Regions from separate parts of the Homo sapiens genome. Here region 1 is linked to region 2. Evidence: promoter capture Hi-C in human tissues and cell types (Jung and others, 2019). All regions are on one chromosome and are shown on one strand. Each heading gives the region's core, a stretch centred on a gene start or on the middle of the fragment in contact. The rest is flanking DNA. Distances are from core to core; before and after follow the strand shown. Region 1 overlaps EZH1 (enhancer of zeste 1 polycomb repressive complex 2 subunit). Region 2 holds the start of AOC2 (amine oxidase copper containing 2).

Evidence for each region. The method cuts DNA at HindIII sites, captures the fragments that hold promoters and counts their contacts. A contact is called where the count stands out against the background at its distance.
Region 1: a fragment that was not itself captured here is called in contact with the fragment with the promoter of AOC2 in region 2 in 1 of the 25 tissues and cell types used here (ovary).

What each region holds. Positions count from the first base shown.
Region 1 is chr17:42,708,152-42,713,070 of GRCh38, reverse strand. EZH1 (enhancer of zeste 1 polycomb repressive complex 2 subunit) reads left to right here. Exons shown (of 21, transcript NM_001991.5): 12 at 586-782; 13 at 3,134-3,225; 14 at 4,155-4,195. Among named protein-coding and RNA genes, the nearest start is that of MIR6780A, 2.5 kb to the right of the region's middle. The HindIII fragment of the contact is 8,591 bases long and covers 1-4,919 here.
Region 2 is chr17:42,841,395-42,846,498 of GRCh38, reverse strand. AOC2 (amine oxidase copper containing 2) reads right to left here and starts at 1,919. Exons shown (of 4, transcript NM_009590.4): 1 at 285-1,919. The coding sequence starts at 1,872. PSME3 (proteasome activator subunit 3) reads right to left here. Exons shown (of 11, transcript NM_005789.4): 11 at 2,739-5,001. The coding sequence ends at 4,921. The HindIII fragment of the contact is 18,620 bases long and covers 1-5,104 here.

The DNA.
Region 1 (4,919 bases), core at 1,806-4,305, 130 kb after region 2:
GGGAATATTTTCTTTTTTTTTTTTTTTTTTTTTGAAACAGTCTCTCGCTTTTTTGCCCAGGCTGGAGTGCAGTGGTGCTATCTTGGCTCACTGCAACCTCCACCTCCCAGGTTCAAGCGATTCTCCTGCCTCAGCCTCCCAAGTAGCTGGGATTACAGGTGCCTGCCACCACGCCCGGCTAATTTTTATATTTTTAGTAGAGACGGGGTTTCGCCATGTTGGCCAGGCTGGTCTTGAACTTCTGACCTCAGGTGATCCGCCTGCCTCGGCGTCCTAAAGTGCTGGGATTACAGGCGTGAGCCACCCTGCCTGGCTAATTTTTGTATTTTTAGTAGAGACAGGGTTTCGCCATGTTGCCCAGGCTGGTCTTGAACTCCTGAGCTCAAGCAATCCACCCACCTCGGCCTCCCAAAATGCAGGGATTACAGGCGTGAGCCACCATGCCTGGCCTAAAGATAGGGAATATTTTCATTCCTAACTGTTCTACCTTTTAAAGTAGAATGAAGTACTTCTGAGTTTGTGACAAACTACTGATGACAACTGCATTCTACCTTCTTCTGATTCTGTTATTTCTTCCCTTCTCAGAGGCTAACTCTCGCTGTCAGACTCCCACAAAACAGAAGGCTAGTCCAGCCCCACCTCAACTCTGCGTAGTGGAAGCACCCTCGGAGCCTGTGGAATGGACTGGGGCTGAAGAATCTCTTTTTCGAGTCTTCCATGGCACCTACTTCAACAACTTCTGTTCAATAGCCAGGCTTCTGGGGACCAAGACGTGCAAGCAGGTACCATCTGGAAGCAGCAGAACAAATGGGCCCCTCCTTTCACGCATTGCTCTGTCCAGCCCTTTGCCATCTTACCAGGCTGTGTGTCTGGGTCTGGAGAGAAGTTGTCTTAAGTTCAGTCCCTGATGAGCCTGTGCTTCTGTGAGTTTCCCAAACATGGCCCTTCTGCAAGTGCCAGGCCTAATGATGTTTGGGGACCCGCCTCCTCCTTGCTGAATGCTCATTTCTGTCTGGACTCTATTTAATGCTTCTGGGTCCTACACTCTTTCGCTTCTTTTTTTTGGCTCTGGCCTCCTTTCTAAATGTGTACCCCTTTCCCAGAAGGGACTCCCAGGTCTTTCTGTGGCTCTTGTTAATGAGCACACTGCTGCTGCTGCTGCAGCTGCTGCAGCTGCTGCTCCCTCCACCACTCCGCCAGCCTCTTCAGTCATTTTATTCTCCACATTTTCTATCACTAGATTATCTTTATTTTGTCTTTGAGACAGGGTTTCACTGTGTCGCCCAGGCTGGAGTGCAGTGGCATGATCATAGCTCACTGCAACCTCCGCCTCCTGGGCTCAAGCAGTCCTCTCCCCTCAGCCAAGCAAGTAGCAAGGGACTACAGGTGCAGGCCAGTATGCCCAGCTAATTTTTTTTTTTTTTTGAGACAGAATCTCGCTCTGTTGCCCAGGCTGGAGTGGTGCAGTGGCATAATCTTGGTTCACTGCAACCTCCGCCTCCCAAGTTCAAGTGATTCTTCTGCCTCATCCTCCCAAGCAACTGGGATTACAGGTGCCCACCACCACACCCAGCTAATTTTTTTTGTTTTGTTTTTTTGAGATGGAGTCTCGGTCTGTTGCCCAGGCTGGAGTGCAGTGGCATGATCTCAGCTCACTGCAGCCTCCGCCTCCCAGGTTCAAGTGATTCTTCTGCCACAGCCTCCCAAGTAGCTGGGATTACAGGTGTGCACCACCACGCCCGGCTAATTTTGTATTTGTAATAGAGACGGGGTTTCACCATGTTGGCCAGGCTGGTCTCAAACTCCTGACCTCAGGTGATCCACCCGCCTCGGCCTCCCAAAGTGCTGGGATTACAGGCATGAGCCAATGTGCCTGGCCATTTTTGTATTTTTTTTTAGTAGAGATGGGGTTTCACCATGTTGGCCAGGCTGGTCTCAAACTCCTGACCTCAAGTGATTGGCCCAGGAAAAGACAGGAAAAGACCACAGTGAGAAGACAGACTGAAGAACAGGGACAAGGAGGCAGCTGTCAGGGCCAGCATGTCCAACAGGAAAGGAACCCCAATGCTTTGGCTTCCTACCTTCTGGAGGAGACTCTGTGGCCTCTTCTTCATGCTTCCTGTACTGAGAACAATTAATAGAACCATGGACTGGGCAAGGTGGCTCACACCTAGAATTCCAGTGCTTTGGGAAGCCATGGTGGGAGGATCGCTTGAAGCCAGGATTTCAGGACCAGTGTGGGCAACAAAGTGAGACCCCATTTCTACAAAAAAAAAAAAAAAAAAAAAGCCACGTACCTGTAGTCCTAGTACTCAGGAGGCTGAGGTGGGAAGATGGCTTGAGCCCAGGAGTTCTATACTACATTGAGCTATGATGGCACCACTGCACTCCAGCCTGGCCAAGAGTATGAGACCCTCTCTCTTAAAAAAAAAAAAAAAAAACAAACAAAAACAGAACCATGAGCTGAAGTGCCCTTTGCTTTCATTTTGGAGCTCATACCTATTTCCCTGATCACAGGTTCTCAACGTAACCATCTATGGATTTGTATGCAAGAATGTTCTTGTCTGTATTTTCCTGAGAATAGTTACAGTTTTCAAAGATCCCCCACAAAGGGCCAATAGCCCCAACAAAGAAAAGGAAAAACTAAAAACCAGTGCTTTAAGAGAAAAAACACATCCTATTGAAATGGCTGAGGCTCCGGTATCTTTATACTGACAGAGGGAGCTAATATTTAGCCCACTGAAACCATTCCTGTCCTGTCCTGTCCTGCCTTACACTCAGTTACACAAGGCACAGCGTTGCCCTTCCTAAAAAGAAGAAGATACTGTTGGTCACAGTCAGCCCACTCTTCTACCCGTGGCTTGGTAGAAAGAGTAGTAGGTGACAGCTTCTGACCAGGGGCGGTATTACTGTGCTCAGTATTTCTCCTTTCCTGAGTCAGGATAAATAATTAGGAATGAACTTCAGAGCCAGTAACCCAATGTTCCAGTGGCACTCTGTCTCTCCCTGACTGATGAGAGGCTTGGTCAGCTGCCTGAGTTTCTCAGAACCCTCCCAAGGCCAGCACCCAGCTGGGCCACTTACCTGACCCCCTTGCTCGAGGAGTGACAGGCCCGTTGGATTTCTCTTCCAGGTCTTTCAGTTTGCAGTCAAAGAATCACTTATCCTGAAGCTGCCAACAGATGAGCTCATGAACCCCTCACAGAAGAAGAAAAGAAAGCACAGGCAAGAAGGGTTGGACAAAGTGTTTTGTTTTACAGCCAGGCTGTTCCCTGTGCTCTGACCTCCCCTTGGAGTTCCCATCTGCCTCCCTCTTTAGCAACCGCACAGGCTGTGTGAGCCCATCAGCTTGGCATCACATGACTGAGAGCCAGCCTCCTGAGTGCTCCCTGAGGGTCTGTGCCTTAGATCAGCCCTCTTCTTGTCCCCCAGTGCTGTGGACCATAACTGTCTGTTTTTCTATTTAAGCTTCTGGCCAATAGGACATGAGCTGGCCTCATGGCTCCACCCTGAAGCCATTTCTCCTTGTTGGTTTTGTTACCACCTTACCCATTTCTCAACTCTGATCAGAGTTTATTTATTTGTTTGGTTTGTGTTGTTTTTCTGAGTTACATGATAGCCTTTACTTAGGTTGGAAGTTTTTAAAAAAATTCTGCACCCTGGCCCTGTTCCCTAGTGACTATCACCTATCAGAGGAAGGAGCTGACACCACTTCTAGATACAGAAGGAAATCCCTGTGGCTCCTCCCTTTCAGTTCTTTCAGAGAAGATTCCTGAAAGGCCTTCCCACCTCCCCATCTTGAAACTCCCCCATATCTCCACCTCCACAAAGACAAAGGGAGAGATTTGGAGAGAAACAATAGCTTTATAATAGACCAATAGGCTTGGGCTTTCTTTTATTTCTGTGTTGTGTTCTTTTATGTTATTTGCTTGTTTGGGAGGGGTTGTGTTTAAGTTTAACTCTTGTAGCACAGGCCAGCTGGATTTAGGATGGACTCTAGCTTCTGTGTACCAAAGTCGTCCTGTTGAGGGGTTTGGGAAGATACTCCCCAGTCATCAAACACAGTCCCTCAGAGCAAGTCACGTTGTCATTTACCTGCATTTGCAGAGCTCCCTAGGGCCGTGACTGAGACCTGTCCTTCCTGTCTTTTTCAGATTGTGGGCTGCACACTGCAGGAAGATTCAGCTGAAGAAAGGTAAGTTCTACCAGGGCATTCTTCAGCAGTTCAGCTGGAGGCCTCACTCTGTGGTCATCACCCTACCCCACCTCCAGCTGCACTTGTTGACCCTGTGCCACTTCCGCAGATTGCAGAATTCTCTGCAGCAACTGAGAACAGCTGAGCCTCTCACTGCAACTGAGAAGACCTCTTAGGAGGTAACATTAAGGGCCTTGTGGTCTGTGATTTTTCTTTTTTTTGAGATGGAGCCTCGCTCTGTCACCCAGGCTGGAGTGCAGTGGCACAATCTTGGCTCACTGCAACCTCCGCCTCCCGGGTTCAAGCAATTCTCCTGCCTCAGCTTCCCAAGTAGCTGGGATTACAGGCATGTACCACCATGCCTGGCTAATTTTTGTATTTTTAGTAGAGACGGGGTTTCACCATGTTGGCCAGGCTGGTCTCGAACTCCTGACCTCAAATGATCCACCTGCCTCGGCCTCGCAAAGTGCTGGGATTACAGGCGTGAGCCACTGTGCCTGGCCAGTATGTGACTTTTCTAGTGTGCCATTTGCTAGGTTCCAGACCTCATTTAATGTTTAGAATAGCTTCCCTGTTGTCCCAGACCATCTCCACACCCTCCCCACAAAGCAGATCACCCCACTGCAGCTTATGAACAACGGTCATCCCTGTCTTCTCACTTCAGGTGCTAAATGTGTGTCCAAGGAGATTGTTAGGACCAGCCTCCTCTGAATCAGGGCAGCTG
Region 2 (5,104 bases), core at 670-3,169:
GCCCAGCCATTACATTTAAACTAGTTTCACAATCATAGCAAGTCAGAGGGGCTGGGCGGGGGAACTCTTTTCACCTTTTACCAGATACCCAGTAGCCCAGTACCAGACTCACTGCACTGAATATGCTCAAACAGTCCCTGCCCTGTTGCCACTAGAGCTGTGGTGTTGGAACACCCTGCTCTTGCCACTTGTTATTTCAGCTTGACCTGGGAGATTCCCTTCCCTTCCCTCCACCCCACCTGACCCCGCCCCCAAGTCTCCATCCTCATCCCCTCAGCACTCACCTGCCACATCCAGGTCCAGCTTGAAGTGGAAGGCATGTGTGTGCACCGTTCCCAGCACTCTTTCCCCCACACGGTTCCCAAAGAGGAGGCCCTCCTCTCCCCCTTTCAGGAAAGCTGTGTTGATATAACCCGTGGCATGGACCCGCCCTTCAAGTGCCCCATTTGGGTACAACACAAAGTCCCAAATGTAGTCATAGTTGCCCACAGATGACACAGACCTGACCACAAGGGCTGAGCTGGCCAAACCACCATAGAAATGATTTTGAAGGTAATTGTGGTGCCTTCGAAGGGGCAGTCCCTGGGCTTCCTCAAATACACACACAGCCCCTGGAAGCAGCTGGACTGCCCCTTTGCCCACTAATATATGGATGTCCACCATCGTGGCTTGATAGGGGCAGTCCACTCCCCGCACCAAGCCTCGGCTGTTACGGCCGAGTCCAAAGCTGCTATCCAAATAGCGAGTCAGCATCGTCTTGGGTGAATCGGCACCATAGATAGATACACACTCCTGGACACTGACTTCATAGGCTATTCGCTCACCCTGGAACCGAACATCAAAAATCCTCAGGCCGCTGAACACCCCATGGCCAAAGGTAAATGACCAGAGGGAGGATACCACCAGGTTTCCTTGCACACTGTACTGGGAACCCTGGGGCGAGAACTGAAGAGGGGGAAGAGGACCTGGAGAGTTCCGAGACCTCAGGGATGAAGCTCCATTTGGTGGAGGTAGAGGGACTCTAACCACTTCCAACCGGCCAGACTTAAACTCCCGTTCCAACTGGCCCAAGTCTGCATAGTAGTGCCCAAGGTAGAAGACCTGCTGGACAGTCCAGTGGGCAGGGTCCAGGGCCCTGTGGTCCAGTAGTAGCTCCAGCCCCACGGGGTGAAGGAAAAGACCAACCCCTGAGATGTTATGGTAGAGGGCCATCCAGGTAGCTCGGTCCCCTGAGCGCAAGCCCCGAGGGGTGGCATGCACAGCTGCCAGGGTAGAGCCATTGTAGTTGAAGGTGGACGACAGGAAGATGGGTGCCTTGGGTAGCTCCACCTCTTTCAGATGCCTCCACATCTGTGTAAACTCAGCTCTCAGCACCGGGCGACGGTGATAGGGCAGGGGCCCGCCGTGACGCTCCACAGTCACATCCCGCATGTACGAGGGGTGAGGCAGCGGCCCCACCACCAGCTCACTCACATTGGGTTGGGGTTGTCCACCAAAGAGGACGATGGCCAGTGCCTCCCGGGCAGGTGGGGGGCTCCCCCTGTCCAGGTGGGCCAGGGCTGCAGCCTTGGGGGGCAGCTGCAGCTCCACTGAGAAGATGCAGTTGTCCGAGGGCTGAGCCTGGGCTGCGTCCACCAGCCCTGGCCCCAGCCGCTGGGTCAGAAAGCGCATCACAGCTGTCAACTCCTCTCGGCTCAGGTCTGCAAACAGCTGGCTCTGGCCAGGGTGTGGCCAGGGCTGGGCCCTATGGGATACAGAGGGGCAGTGGGGAGGCTGGCTGGAACCACCTGGGCTGGTCAGCAAAACATAGGCCAGGGCAAAGATGGTAATGAGGGACAGTGCCAGGAACGCCAGGACTATCTTGAGATGCATGGTGGATGCTGAGAGCTGAAATCAGAATTCTAACAGCTGCTCCTTCCAGTTACTGACATCAAGTCGGGGTTTATATTCGCTAGGATGGATAGGAAGGGAGAAAACTCCACCCCATGGGTTGGGCAGGAAATTTCTGACCTTGATTTATGTAATTCTGTTCCAATTTTCTGTCCTGTGGTTTGGCCCAGGGCACTGCTTCCACATGCATAGCCTCTTCCTTGCCCCTGAACTCCCACTGGTAGCAGTCAGTACCAACTACTGATTTCCATCATTTAGACCAGATGAAAGGGAATCTGGGTTAACGATGCTAACCTCCAGTTTCCACCTGGAATGGGTCTCAGGAAGAGTACAAACCTCAGATGCCCAATTAAGTTCTGCAGCCTGCATGCAAGCACTAAGCTGTCCATTTTCCTACCTCCTGGCAGGAACTGCATCCCAACAGCTCCAGGATTCACTGCCATGTTCAGCAGTAAGCACTGAATTCTACTTGTTGCCTAATGCCAAGCCCTTGATTTGTAGTCAGGCCATTTCCAACCAGTGGAGTGGCTGAGGGCCTGGGCTTAGTAATCAGGTTTGTCCACCAATCCCAGTTCCCTCAGCTGTGTAACCTTAGCGGAAATACTTATCCTGAGTCTCAGTGTCCTCATCTGTAACAAATAGATACAACTATCCTATAGATTCCTGAAGATTAAATGTGATCATGCACATTAGGTACTTAACAGCCTGGCACAGGGGAGGCACTCACAAACCGCTAGCTTTTGGTAGTCATCTCTGAAACAGAACAGAGCAGCTGCTCCTCCATTGTTCAAGACCTTAAACTCTTTTTACAGAGACAACGAGGGGATCATTGGAAACCAGAAGGCTACTTGCAAGGTGGAAGATGAGGAAACTTTATTTCAGAGGGAGATAGATTCCTAGGCAGCCCTCCAAGTAATTTGAAAACCAAAACTAGGAGTCTCCTCAAGAAACTGAAGACATTATTCAGGAAGAATTAGTATAAGGTAAAGAAAATGACTGGGTAGGACGCGCCTTGAACCAGTTCATTCCTTACACATGGAACGATAGCAGCCTCTACTGGCAGTTCATGGGTATCACTCGGGAAGGAAGGAACTAGGATCTTCTGAAAGTAGGGAGAGAAGGCAGCTTAGGTCTGGGAAGAGCTAACTTTCCCATAATTCAGACTGAACACAAATGAAGCACCCAACCTTGCTCAGTAGGCAGAAGCCTCAGTCTTTCCACTATACTGGGGAAAAGATTCAGCTCAACTGGCATAAGGACACACAACAGGGTGGCTAGGTGTCCATGGAGGTGGGTGTCCAAGCGTGCACACATATGAGCATGAGTACATCCCTAGCCACCAGAGCATTGCACCAGGGTCTGCGGCTTTAGAAAGAGGTCAAAGTACCTGTATTTTTAATAATTTCTTGACATGGTAAAAGAATTTTACATTACGATCCATGGGTGATAGGGTGAGGAGGAGGGGCAGTGGAACAGTCCAACAAACGAAACGGGAAACTGAGAAACACATGGAGGGAAGGGGGAAGGGTTTTAGCTGGAAGGGATCTGGAGGGTGGGTGGGAGCACTGCCCAACTAAAATGCAATTGGTTTGTTACTGAGTACTATTCGTGGGAAGACAGCATCCTGACTCCCTCTCTACAGAATATTGGGAGTAAAAATGATGCATCCCCGGTGGAAATATTATTGGGGGTTGGAAGACAGAGACAGGAAAAATAAGTCAGAAACAGACACTAAGAGTCACTGGCAGGCTGACTGCAGGTATCAACTCTCCAGCCGTGGTAGAATAAAAGAGCTAGGGGCTGAAGGGGATTAACACAAAAGCTGTTAACAATTAAGTGATATCTCTGGAAGATTCGAGAGACAGGAGGCAACTCTTCTATAGTTTTGACTTGCCCAGCACATTTCCACATACACAAATGTGTATATGCACGTGTGTGCATGCACATACACATACACACCAATGATTGCTTTCCCCGGAAGCCCGACACTATAAATAAAGAGAAATAGTTCCCAAAAGGAAAGCCCAACATGAGCAGCAGCATCTGGACCTCACACTTGCAGAAACCTTCACCCCAACTGAAAACTGGCTGGGAAAAGGCAACCAGGAGTCAAGCTCTTGCAATAATGCCAAAAAGGGCTGAGTCAGAGAGGAACAGGCTTTCCCCAAGCCCTCTGCTTCTCATCTCTCTGTTCTCCACCAACTCACCCTGGGTACCAAGAGGCTACAGTATCAGGAGGGAGGACGGGCCCAGGACGTTTGTCTGGGTAGATGACAACTAAGACAACTGTCACCTCCTGAAAGGTATGTGACAGGGGTTGTGGAGAGGGAGGGTATGTTAGCTAATGGAGTAGGAGTCTGTGTGTGCATGTCTGTATGGGCGTATACATGCATACACATATGTGCATGTGAAAACGCCCATTATAAAAACAACTGAAGGAGCTTCGGAATTGACTGAAGGCCTAAGGTATTTCTTGTCACGATCAAGATTCAAAGTGGGATGTACACAGATGGGAAGCCCTAAGTCATCACCAGGGCAACTGTGGGAGGATCCAATGCCCCACAGAGGAAAGAAACAGTAACCTCATGTGAGGAAGAGAAGTTCGTCCCCCCGCCACCCTAGTTCCTAAAAAACACCTAGCACTTTCCTTCCGGTTCCCTCAGCTTTTAACCAACTAATTATCAAACGGAAGAAAACATAAAGCGCAAGACACAGGAGGGAGAGAGGGGGAGAATGAAAACACAGGTATTTTTGTGCCAACATCCTGCACACACAAACCTGGAGTTCTCCAGAAATTACGACAGGTTGGGTGTGGGGTATTAGGGAAGGAAATAGAAGAGTTCCTGAGGCCTGAAAAAAGAGGTAAACACATCACAGAACTAGATGAGAGTTTCATTAGACTCTAACTAAAAACAGAGAGGTGTGATTACTATTTCCAGCCAGTTTCCCCATCACGATAGTCATGTAACAAACCAAGGCAATGTCGGTCTTGAGCCAGACTCACAGAGTCCCCTGGCCCTGGCCCTGGCCTCAGTACAGAGTCTCTGCATTGCTGCTCCGGGGCCGTTTGATCTTCTCGATATTTTTCAGGATCATGTCATGTAGAGTGACCTGAGAGAAGAGGGATCAGGGGAATCACATATCTGTACAACCCTTACCTCATCAAGAAAATGAGAGACCCCTTCACAAATCCCCAAGCAATCATCTGCATACG